4 separate regions of the Homo sapiens genome follow, and regions 1, 3 and 4 are each linked to region 2. The links are contacts of gene promoters, found by promoter capture Hi-C in human tissues and cell types (Jung and others, 2019). All regions are on one chromosome and are shown on one strand. Each heading gives the region's core, a stretch centred on a gene start or on the middle of the fragment in contact. The rest is flanking DNA. Distances are from core to core; before and after follow the strand shown. Region 1 has its middle 11 kb from the start of POLR1D. Region 2 holds the start of GSX1 (GS homeobox 1). Region 3 overlaps LNX2 (ligand of numb-protein X 2). Region 4 overlaps LNX2 (ligand of numb-protein X 2).

The links. Contacts are between HindIII fragments. The study calls those that stand out against the background at their distance.
Region 1: a fragment that was not itself captured here is called in contact with the fragment with the promoter of GSX1 in region 2 in 1 of the 25 tissues and cell types used here (aorta).
Region 3: a fragment that was not itself captured here is called in contact with the fragment with the promoter of GSX1 in region 2 in 2 of the 25 tissues and cell types used here (mesenchymal stem cells and pancreas).
Region 4: a contact is called between a fragment that was not itself captured here and the fragment with the promoter of GSX1 in region 2, in 4 of the 25 tissues and cell types used here (H1 embryonic stem cells, adrenal gland, heart left ventricle and 1 more).

Annotation. Positions count from the first base shown.
Region 1 is chr13:27,631,418-27,634,697 of GRCh38, forward strand. It overlaps a transcript of POLR1D not described here. Among named protein-coding and RNA genes, the nearest start is that of POLR1D, 11 kb to the left of the region's middle. The HindIII fragment of the contact is 4,158 bases long and covers 1-3,280 here.
Region 2 is chr13:27,790,803-27,793,851 of GRCh38, forward strand. GSX1 (GS homeobox 1) reads left to right here and starts at 1,681. Exons shown (of 2, transcript NM_145657.3): 1 at 1,681-2,300; 2 at 2,764-3,049. The coding sequence starts at 1,889. RefSeq lists an enhancer at 1,608-2,411. The HindIII fragment of the contact is 15,189 bases long and covers 1-3,049 here.
Region 3 is chr13:27,615,030-27,617,899 of GRCh38, forward strand. The region is part of intron 1 of LNX2 (ligand of numb-protein X 2); the gene reads right to left. Among named protein-coding and RNA genes, the nearest start is that of LNX2, 4.1 kb to the right of the region's middle. The HindIII fragment of the contact is 4,182 bases long and covers 1-2,870 here.
Region 4 is chr13:27,575,503-27,578,531 of GRCh38, forward strand. All of the region lies in intron 2 of LNX2 (ligand of numb-protein X 2), which reads right to left. Among named protein-coding and RNA genes, the nearest start is that of LNX2, 44 kb to the right of the region's middle. The HindIII fragment of the contact is 3,423 bases long and covers 1-3,029 here.

The DNA of each region.
Region 1 (3,280 bases), core at 254-2,753, 160 kb before region 2:
GTTGGTTAGACATGAGTCAGTAAGTCCAGCCCACACTTGAGAGCGAGTACATGAGGGTCTGAATACCAGGAGGTGGGGATCCTTGGCACCATCTTAGCGGCTGCTTACCCATCCGCCTTCTCTAAAGTGGCATGCACACCCACATACAAACCTCCATCACTCTCTATTCCTTTACCTTGCTATATTCCTTCATAGTACTCATTGTCAACTGACATTATATTATATATTTATCTATTTATTGTCTAACTCCACTTGAAAAATATCTCCTTGGCGGCAAGGGCTTTGTCCTTGTTCGCTTCTGAACCCCAAGCACTTAAAACTGGGTCAGGCACACAGTAGGCTTTCATTAATGTTTCTTCAGAAAGTCAATGAATAATGTGCATGATTACATACCAGTGTCAGAGTATGAGTACCACAACAGGAAGAAGGACTGATGATTTATAATGACATTATTTTGTACACTTATCAGCTGACATTTGCAACTCAGAAAGCCACCACAGTAACAAGCTTCAAGAAGACAAAAAATTATTGAGTGGGACAAGGAACCATGCCTATCCTGTGGCTTCAGTGGGAGGAGGAGCTGAGGGGAGGCAGGAGTAAGCATCATAGAGAGCCTTGATAAAGGTGGTTATGCTTTATATTCTGTTTCATTTTTGTCTTCTCTGTGTCCTCAAGAGCCTCTAACACTACTATCTTCACCACCTTGATCCCATGCCTCATCTGTTGTCTTGTCTATTGGTTTAAAAAGGTAGAATATCTCCCACTTGAAGTTGATTGATGGATATTTTTACTTTGCAAGAGCAGTATGGGAGAGTGATATGAATTTTCCTTGGGATCTTATCCCCACAGAACTCTAGGAGGGAAAAAGTGGTAGGATTGTAGTTTTGAGTACCATGAAGTGGAATTGAAAGGATTTGATTCCAAGGTATGCTGTTTTTTCAATGCCGAATAGTACACTCATTTCCTAACCAGCTGTCTCGTAAATCTATGCCATTTACTACAAATAGCATTGCTTTGGAAAAATAACAGAATGCATGCATTTGTTTTTCCAGCAGCTATTTAAGGTCCATTTGTTTTCCAGGTACCAAGAAAGCAAAGACGAATCTCATTTCATGCCTACCTTCACAGAGTTTGCAATCCGACTAGACCAAAGAGCTGTGTAGTAAAGAACTGAAGGATAGGTGTCATTTCTTGTAACTCTTTTACCTCATTAAAATTGCAGCACCCCCCGCCCCCCAGCACTCCTACCTTGTATTTTTTCTATAGCACTTATCTTCTAACATATGAGATATATAATTTACCTTTTTATTATATTCATTATATATTGCCTTTCCCTCTACCCCTCAAACACACACACTGTAACATAAGCTCTGTGAGAGCAGAGATTTTTGTTTTAATGTTCACTGATGTATCCACAACCCCTGGAACAATGCCTGGCTCATAGCAGGTGTTCAAAAAATGTTTATCAAATGAATGAATAGCAGATTGACTCTGTATTGTTTTTACATTAAATACCCCAAGAGCTGAACTTGAATTTAAAAAGGGAAATAACTATTCTATAAGCTTCGAATTGAGAACCACAAATTTGTGGTTGTGTGTCTTCAACTCCATAGTTTGTCACATGTAGTTGGCAAGAGACTGGGCCTGTCCAGGAGGAGTCAGACCTAGAGGTTCATTTAGGCAAAGGGTGACCAGAGCAGGCAAAGATAGAGTGCCAGAGGAGTAGCCTATGCAGTAGGAACCAAGCAGATCTGATAGATATTGCCAGGTAGATGATTCCAGAGGGGTCACCTGAGCTAAGAAGAATTGGGCATGTTGTTTATACACACATAAGAAGGCAGGGCTTTGTATCTGCAAGGCCAAATTTGACTGCAACGCATCTCACATTAATGAGAACTGACCCCCGCCAAGGCCGACAATGTTGGTTTTGTGAGCACCTGTTCTACCCATATACCTACTGTGTGATTTTGGATTTGGGGAATTCCCAGACCGATAATATTTCAAAAAAATCTAATGGGGTGAAAGGATGTAGGATTGCTTAAGTTTTATTTTGCCCTTACTTTGTGAAATGGACTTTCCTTCACTTCCATGGAAAATTGCCAGAAATCCTAGTCTTTATTTAGGTGACCTGAAGCACTTGAAGGACAAAACAAAGACTTAAAGCATTCAATAATTTGATGTCTGTTGTGCCATTTTTATCATGTTTGCTCCACAATAAATTGAACAGACTCTTGCACTTTTCCCTTGGGTCCTCATGAGCATTTGTCTACAACTGTTAATAAGTTACATGGGATCTAAGAATAAATTTTCATTGGAATTCAGATTTCAAGTGAAGGATCACCCAACATTGCGATCCCTCATCTAACATTATTTCAGATCCTGAGTTGCTGCTTTGTTCTGCATACTTAAACATAAGTCCCGGAGCTTGGAATACTTAACAAGGGGTTTGTGTTGCTGTTGTTGTTTCCAAAAGTGATTAAAATTGGTAATATAAAATTAATATAAGCTTCATTTATCTCTTCATTCCCTGAAGATGAGGAGTAAGAGAGTACCATCATCATATTCTTGTCAAAGTAAATGAGTTGGATTTATATTCTTTATCAGACCTTGTAATTGAAGCCTTCTAGACTTGATTCTACAGTTTTATTTCTGCTTTTTGTTTATTGGTTTGTTTACATGGCAAAGACTGCAGTTTGTCCTTAAATGGATGGAAAATATTAGGGATTCCAGGGGCTTATGATTAGAAACTTATGATTAGTTTGTTTATATGGCAAAGATTGTACTTTGTCCTTAAATGGTTGGAAAACATAAAGGATTCTAGGGGTTTATGATTAGGAACTGTTGTGCTGAAAATGTCTGTCTTTAGAAGTGTTAGCTTACAGGTGTGTCACTGTCTGCTGCCCAGACTTGTAGCAAGCAAGCAGAGGATTCCCTTCCTATTTCCTTGTTCTAATAAGTTGGTCCCCATCGGAGAGCAATGAAAGATCAGAACAAGCCAGAACATGAGGAAGCCAACTAGACTTACTCCTGGCCAAAAGCAGACAGCCTAACAGACACGTAACTGTGACTGTAAAGTAAGAAGACTGATTTGCCTCACCAGGTAGGAAAACAAGTTTAATCCTCCTTCAAGGTAGATAGTGTCTTTTCCCCTTTATAGAAAAGGCAACTGAGACCTGGGGAAGTTAGGTAACCAGCCTAAGGTTATATGACTAGTAATTAGATAGGAACTGAAAGATGGCCTGACTCCATAGACTCTGCTTTTTTTTTTTTTTTTTTGGCA
Region 2 (3,049 bases), core at 431-2,930:
GGCTGGTTTGCAGGCACCACCCTAGAGTGGGGGAGCCTTGGCGCTGAGACTCTGTCTCAGAGGGCAGCCTTGCCCCCCACTCCATGCCAAGCAACCAAGAAAACATTGAACCCTTACTCCTGCTAGATGCCATGCCCTCCATGCAGGTTACTTCTCCCATTGTCCTATTCCCTTTTACAGAAGCAGTTATTATCTCGCAAAACAAATTATCTTTGCTTTTTAATCAGTTATAATCTGTTGCTGTTGTTATTGCAAAGATGTTGCCAAGGATAAAAGCCCATGCAGATGCTTCGGGTTTGGGCAATCTTATTCCTGCGCACTGCTTCCCCAGACCCCTAAGCTTCCCCCTCCATTTCTCACAATTCCATTCAGGGCTCAGAGCAGGTGACTGCAGCGATTTGGTTCCAATAAAATCGAAAGTAAACGTCTCCTGTGAAAAGTCCCGGGCTGTAAATTAGAAATGTTTATGCTGATTTCCCATTGTATGGAAAAAGCTCCTGGGCGAAACAGCTTTGAGCCCGAGAACGATTTAAAAAGCTGGAGCTGTGTACACAGCTCTGAGCGTTTGAAGTTGTTTAACCATTGTGTGACCAGAAAGAAGAGTGACGCGGCAGGAAGAAGAAGCCGGGTCTTGGGGAGAGCGGAGGCGGGTCAGGGTGGGCAAAGGCAGCCGATGCCAGGAATACAACCGCCCTTCGCGCCGTTCCAAACTAAGAGATGGCAGCGGTTTCCCAGCGCACTGCTGGAAGTGTGCTCCAGTAGACAGGGTGTGGGCAAGATGCGCGGGCAGACAGTCCGCACTCGCCACATGTGCTGGGGTGCGAGATCTAGATCTGCGCCATCTCGGCTTTCATTCCCCATTCCCTGTCTCTGTTCGTAACGCTCAGAGACTGTTTTTCCTCTTTTACATCCACGGCCCTGTCATTTGAAGGAAAGGGCTGGTTGGCCAGCATCTACCGAACAAAGACTGGGCGTCGTAGGCAGCACCAAAATTAAGACTATTTGAGAAACTTAGAGAAAACCGAGGGACAGCGATGGGTCTAGGGCTGGATAAGGAATAATGAGCCCTTCTCCTCCCTCCCCACAGACGCCTCCTTCACGCGGGAACCCGGTCCTCCTTCTTCCGACGCAGAGAGAGAAGCGATTCCACAGGTGGAAAATCTGAGACCGGCTGGAGGGAGGTTCGGGGGTGCACGGCACTGAGCTGACAGGGCTGACTGGAGACAGCATACTTTTGGGGTGTAAGGGCGATAATAGAAAGAAGGGGACCAGGACCAAGTGGACAGAGGATATGAGGGTGTGCGCCCATGGGGATCTGTAGAAGAGAGGCCGCGGGGGTGCAAAATCAGTAAGGTGAACGGGCTGATGGCCAATGCAAAGCCAAAGGGGAGTAAGAAATAAAGAGAAAGGAAAGAATATTAAATCGCGGGAGAATGAGAAAATAAACCCGCAAAAGGGAGAGGAGGGGGCGAGGGCGCCTGTTACGGCGTGGGTGGGGTTGACAAGAATAGAGTACATTATGCAGTTCATTTAGTTAACAAGTGAAATAATGAGGAAGCGTGCAGAGTGAATGCCAAGAGAAAAGGCACAAAAACCCTATTGAGAGGCCCCGGCCGCTCCTGGCGTAGTCCATCACATGGCAATAGTCCTATTTAAGCCGCGCCGCCGGCGCCTTTCAGCACCACTAGCGCTGGCCAGCACCCCGCGCTCTTTGGGCGGTGCCCACGGCAGCAGAGGCTACTGTTTCAGCCTAGGTCTCAGCCGCGCGTTCAGCCTCCTGGGCAGAGGCAGCTGCGGGATACCGCGGCCAGGGAAAGCGCGTGGAGAGCCGAAAGGTGCGGTGGGCGCAGAGGGCGGGCTGGCTGCGGGGCGACCGCGCGCCGGGGCCATGCCGCGCTCCTTCCTGGTGGACTCGCTAGTGCTGCGCGAGGCGGGCGAGAAGAAGGCGCCCGAGGGCAGCCCGCCGCCGCTCTTCCCCTACGCTGTGCCCCCGCCGCACGCGCTGCACGGTCTCTCGCCTGGCGCCTGCCACGCGCGCAAGGCTGGGCTGCTGTGCGTGTGCCCGCTCTGCGTCACCGCCTCGCAGCTGCATGGGCCCCCCGGGCCGCCCGCGCTGCCTCTACTCAAGGCTTCCTTCCCACCCTTCGGCTCGCAGTACTGCCACGCGCCCCTGGGCCGCCAGCACTCTGCTGTGTCGCCCGGGGTCGCTCACGGCCCGGCCGCCGCTGCTGCTGCCGCCGCGCTCTACCAGACCTCCTACCCGCTGCCTGACCCCAGGCAGTTCCACTGCATCTCTGTGGGTAAGCGGGGCCGCCGCGCAGAGGGACCGGGCAGAGGTGATCCGAAGCAGGATGGAGAGCCAGAGATGGAGGAAGAGGGACCCTGGGCTTTCTGGGGGCGGTGAGGGTCATGTCGGGGACTAAGGGGGGCGCTTGGGGTGGAGTGAGGATAGAGGGCCGGGACACAACGCCAGGAGGCGGATGAGGGCAGACGTCCAGGTCCTGGAGTGTGGGCCGGGGTAAGTGAGGGCTGGGATCCAAGGCTCTCCATGAAGGGGAAGGGGTTCCAGGGCTGCATGACTCCGGGAGAATCAGGATCTCGGAGCTGGACAAGGAGCGCTCACTGTAGCTCTGCTGTGGATTGTGTTGGGGCGAAGAGATGGGTAAGAGGTCAAAGTCGTAGGATTCTGGCGACCGCCTACCAAGGGATTGGGTCCACAGCACAGAGGTCTGATCGCTTCCTTCTCTGCTCTGCCACCTCCAGACAGCAGCTCTAACCAGCTGCCCAGCAGCAAGAGGATGCGCACGGCTTTCACCAGCACGCAGCTGCTAGAGCTGGAGCGCGAGTTCGCTTCTAATATGTACCTGTCCCGCCTACGTCGCATCGAGATCGCGACCTACCTGAATCTGTCCGAGAAGCAGGTGAAGATCTGGTTTCAGAACCGCCGAGTGAAGCACAAGAAGGAGGGCAAGGGCAGCAACCATCGTGGCGGCGGCGGCGGGGGTGCCGGTGGTGGCGGGAGCGCACCGCAAGGCTGCAAGTGCGCATC
Region 3 (2,870 bases), core at 96-2,595, 180 kb before region 2:
AGCAGTGGACACCAGCTGAGTGTCCTCTAGTTCAATTCAATTCTGACCTGGAGATAACCCCAGATCCCAAAGCTGAGGGCTCAGTCTCCAAGACCGCTCCCCTCTCCACCAGACACCAGTCGCAAGTGCAGGCCTCAGAAAATTCTAACTGACTGGCCTCAATTTGGGGTTCCCATAACCCCTCTTTGGGTTCAATTAACTTGCTAGAGCAGCTCACAGAACTCAGGGATACACTTACTTAGGTTTACCAGTTTATTATAAAAGATATTACAAAGGATATAGATGAAGAGATGCACAGGGCGAGGTACGGGGAAGGGGTGCGGAGCGTCCATGCCCTCTCTGGGGCGTGTTACCCTCCAGGAACCTCCATGTGATCAGCTGTCCAGAAGCTCTCTGAACCCTGTCCTCTTGGGCCTTTTATGAAGACTTCATAACATAGGTATGGTTGGTTAAATCATTGGCCATTGGTGATCAGCTTACCCTTCAGCTCCTCTGCCCTCCCTGGAGGGTGGTGGTGGGGCTGACAGTCCTAACCCTCTAATCCAGCCTTTCCAGTGCCCAGGGCCCATCCTGAAGCTACCTAGGGGCTGCCAGCTGTTCAGTCAACTCATCAGCATACAAAGACACTTAGCGCTTTGCAGATTCCAAGGAATTTGAGAGTTGTATGCCAGGAAACAGGGATAAAGACCATATATATATTTCACAACATCACAGAAGCTTAATCATAAGCCATCAATGTTGCAGTTCTTCTATATTCCTATAAGAACAGGGAACAGTTCAAGCTTCCTCACTGGATCAATTCTCTTTTGCTTTCCCTCTGACCAATGACTGTTTCAAAGATTTGGAGAAGTCTGTGAGCCAAGCCAGATCAAAGCCAATTTGGATCCAATTTGTTCATTAATGCATGCTGTCAACAAAAAGAGTCAAACTCTGCAACATATTTGAAGAGATTTATCGTGAGCCAAATCTGAGTGACCATGGCCCATGACACAGCCTTCAGGAGGTCCTAAGAACATGTGCCCAAGATGGTAGGGGTGCAGCTTGGTTTTATACATTTTAGGGAGGCATGAGACATCAATCAAAAAATTTTAAGAAATACATTGGTTTGGTCCAGAAAGGTGGGACAATTGCAGGGGGTCGGGGGTGGGGTGGGGGGTTGGGGGGGGTAGCAGGGAGTGCCATTCCAAGCCATAGGTAAATTTAAACATTTTCTGGTTGACAGTCGGTTGAGTTTGTCTAAAGCCCTGGGATCAACAGAAAGGAATGTCTGGGTTAAGACAAAGGATTGTGGAGACCCAAGTTCTTACTTTCAGAGGAAGCCTTCAGGTAGTAGGCTTCGATAGGTGGTAGTAAAACGTTTCTTATCGGACTTAAAGTCTATGTTAATGTTAATGTCAGAGAGGTATAACAAGTCATGTCCGACCTCCACTTCCCACTCATGGCCTGAAACTGTCTCTCAGGTTAAATTTTAAAAGACCCCTGGATGAGGAGGAAGTCCATTCAGATGGCTGGGGAGAGGGGGAAGCTTAGAATTTTATTTTTGGTTTACAATACATTAATATTTGTTTAAGTACTTAGGGATTCTGCAGTTAGCAAAATAGATAGGATCCCAGCTCTAGGAAGCACACATTCTAAAGGATAGAACCTACAACACCTGCTTCTTTAAAAGCATACTAACTAGAGGACAATTTATTATTGTAATGTCATGAGCACTTGCTTGTTAAAAAATTCCTTTTTTGAGATGGAGTCTAGCTCTATCACCCAGGCTGGAGCGCAGTGGCGCAATCTCAGCTCACTGAAACCTCTAGCTCCCGGGTTCAAGCGATTTCTCCTGCCTCAGCCTCCTGAGTAGCTGGGATTACAGGCACCTGCCACCACGCCCAGCTAATTTTCGTATTTTTAGTAGAGACAGGGTTTCACTGTGTTGGCCAGGCTGGTCTTGAACTCCTGACCTCGTGATCGCCCGCCTCAGCCTCCCAAAGTGCTAGAATTATAAGCGTGAGTCACTGCACCTGGCCAAAAAATTCCTCTTAATAACTTCTTAGAAGGCTAATACACAAAATAGCCACCTTTTCTGAATCCAACCAAACAAAATAACTTATTAACCACAGATTTTCCTACTGCTTTGTATTTTCTGAGGAAAAGAAACAGGTGCCAGGAAAGCTAAAAGGGATGTCTTTTGTAAGACTCTCAGGCCCTCCTACAGGGTCAATTTAGGTAGGCCTGCCCCAGTCTTCTAATTCTACATGCAAGATACATATGTATTACTTTTTCAAACAACACTGCTTCCTAAATAGAGGAGAACCTATGAAATGAGACCTGTGATTCTTTTTTAAAAACCTAGATGCATTTGGATAGAGGAAGGTGGGCCTGTGAACTCTAGCCCTGTAAGCAGGAAGGAAAGTTAAATAGTTCCTCATAATACAATTTAAAGATATCGGGTGGCAATTGTAAAGGAAAGAAAGAAGAGGGGAAGAAGGCCAAAGAGCCAACCAGATTACAAGAGCCTGGAGTCCTCCTTTCTTTGATGGTGGCCAAAATATATTTTAAGGATAGAAATGCCTAATATTCAATGTCAACACTTCTGATATCGCTCCACTGTGAACCCCTTCACCCTCCCCTTCCTCTAAATCTCTCATAAAGCTTACCATACTCATAAAGCCTTTCTGTGAACTCTTTTTCTTTTCTATTCTTTCCTAGCTCCTGTGAGACACAACTATCCAACAACTGCATCATGGATCTCTCAACCATCCATTTAGCACCTCCTTAGATTAGTCCAAAACTGAACTTATCTTCCCTTCTACACCTCTACCATCAATTGTTTTTAACTGCTCCTTCTCATATCCTCCAACATTCCACTAGCTCATTAA
Region 4 (3,029 bases), core at 430-2,929, 220 kb before region 2:
GAAGAAGAAATTCATTCCTTATTTTCCTGCCTTACTGCTTGAGTTGTGACATCTCATCTCCTGCCCTCAGACTGGGATCACTGGCTCTCCTAGTTCTCAGACCTTCTGACTGAGAAGGTCTGAATTATGCTACTGACTTCCCTGGGTTGCCAGCGTGCAGAGAGCAGAACGTGTAATTTTTCAGACTCCTTAATCATGTCAGCCAACTCCTCATATATTGGTTCTATTTCCTTACAGATCCCTGACTAATTCATTAGTGAAAATGAAGCTGGTATTCATTTAAAATAGACTGCTATAAACTAGGATGTTAATTGTAAGCCCCAGGGTAACCACTAAGAAAATAATTTTAATTAAGAGAAATGACACGGGAATTAAAATAGCATATTAAAAATATTTAACACAAATGGAAGAAATGGAGGAAAAAAGAAATAAGACATATAGAAACAAACAGCAAAATGGCAAATGTAAAGCCTACCTTATCAGTAATTACATTAAATTACATGAATGAAACATCCCAATAAAAAGTCAGTGACTGGCAGAATGGGCTACAAGAAACATAATCCAACTGTCTACAACAGACACACTTCAGATTCAAAGACATAAATAAAGCAAAAGACAGAAAAACATAACAAGATATGACAATTATAAACAGAAATTGTACCAAACAATGGCCCCAAAATACGTAAGTAAAAAATGACAAAGAGAGAAATAGACAAATCAACAATAAAGCTTTTGATACTCGACTTTCAATACTAACAGAACAACTAGACATGGAACCAGAAAATAGACCCTTTAACACTATAGACCAATTAGACCCAATAGACATATGGAGCACTCCATCCATTAACAGCAGAATTTACATTATTCCCAAGTACACACAGGACATTTTCCAAGACAGGCCATGTGCTAGGCCATTTTAAAAAAGGCCTCAAGGCTGGGCATGGTGGCTCACGCCTGTAATCCTAGCTCTTCGGGAGACCTAGGTGGAGGATCACCTGAGCTCAGGAGTTTGAGACAAGCCTGGTGCAATATGGCAAGACCCCGTCTCTACTAAAAGCACAAAAAAAAAAAAAATTAGTTGGGCATGGTGGAGTGCGCCTGTAGTCCCAGCTACTCGGATGCTGAGGCACAAGAGTCACTTGAACCCAGCAGGTGGAGGCTGCAGTGAGCCAAGATTGCACTGCTTCACTCTAGCCTGGGTGACAGAGCGAGATGCTATCTCCAGAAAAAAAAAAAGAAAAGAAAGGCCTCAATAAAATTTAAAGGATTGAACAATACACATTATGATTTCTCATTGCAATTAATTCCAAATGGATCAAAAACTGAATTATAAGAGAGAAAACTAGAAAACTCTTAGAAGAAAACGTACATGTAAATTTTTGTGACCTTGAATTGGGCAATGTTTTCTTAGATATGACACCAAAAGCATAAGCAAACAACAATGAACTTCATAAAAATTAGATATTTGTTCTTTAAAGGATGTAGGAAAGTGAAAAGACAACTGACAGAATGGGAGAAAATATATGCAAATCATATATCTGGTAAGGGTCTAGTATCCAGAATACATAGAAAATTCTTACAACTTAGCAAAAAGACAAATAATCCAATATAAAAATGAACTAATGATGTTGAGCATGTCATGTGCTTACTGGCCACTTGAGTATCTTTGGAGAACTATCTATTCAAATCCTTTGCCCATTTAAAATTGGATTTATCTTTTCATTTCTAAGAGTTCTTTATATATTCTGGATACTAGAATACACATGATTTGCAAATACATATATCTGCTTTTTCACACCATACATGAAAAAACAATACTGATAAGAATGTGCTAAACACAAACTTCCCTCCAAGTTAAAGTGTGAATTTAAAAGTGCAATCATGCCTCAGCCTATCCTGATCCCTTTTTTTTCTATTTAGTTTTTCCTGGACCATCATCTAAAGCAGGGTTGTCCAATCTTTTGGCTTCCCTGGGCCACACGGGAAGAAGAATAATTGTCTTGGTCCACACATAAAATACACTAACATCAATGATAGCTGATAAGCTTAAAAAAAAAATAATCCCAAAAGCCTTCCTGGGCTGCATGTGGCACAGGCTGAACAAACTTGAACTTAAGGTTTCATAACCATCTCATGAACAAGAAAAGTTCTCAGCAAGGAAAGAGGCTTCTTTAAAGGTTTTCTATTGTAAACTTTTTATAATGGCATTAAACTGTAATTTTTAAGAGGAAAAGTAATTCTGAACCTTGCCATAAACTAGGGCACAAACACACAATTTAAAAACAACAACAACAACTAGCACTTACAATTACCAAAGGCTTAAATGTTAAATCGTTAAGGGTGGGTTGGAGATGAGTGGTAGAGCGTAGGAGGAATGCTATATAGCTGATGTTGCTTGGCAGAATTTCAAAGAAACAATCAAAATGTTACATATTTAGTACAACATGTAGAATATTTTTCAAAGGCTTTATTTCTCTGTTCAAAGATAGAGACTGTCCATGTCTCTTAAAATTCTTCATTTCACTAATACATAATCAGTTAAAAATAGCAGTTTTATTTAAACATGTTCATCTTTCATAAATATTTTATCTGTAGGAGAAAAATGTTTGCTCTTCTCAAATCAAAACACATTTGTTAAGGGCAGGATTTCATTCAAATAGGAAGGTGATCTTAAATGTGAAATTATCAAATTTATGCAAACTACTGCTAATGCTCTATTTCTACCAATAATTAAGAGATTCCTGTAAACCCTAAAAGCTCAAGAGCAAAGGCACATGACAGCCATGCAACTTTTATACAATGACTCTTTGTTGCTGATGCTAAAATCTTATGAATTTCAATGAAACTTACAGACTTACCAATTTCTAACAAACAAGTGAGATTTGTATACCGAGAAGCCGCAAACAGTCGTAGTAATCATATTCTGCGCCGCATAACATCATTCTTCTTGCTAGTTTATGTTGGTTTTAGAACATGGCTGCAAATTTTTTTGACTTCCCATCACAAGGTGAAACCTATGTCCCCTTTTC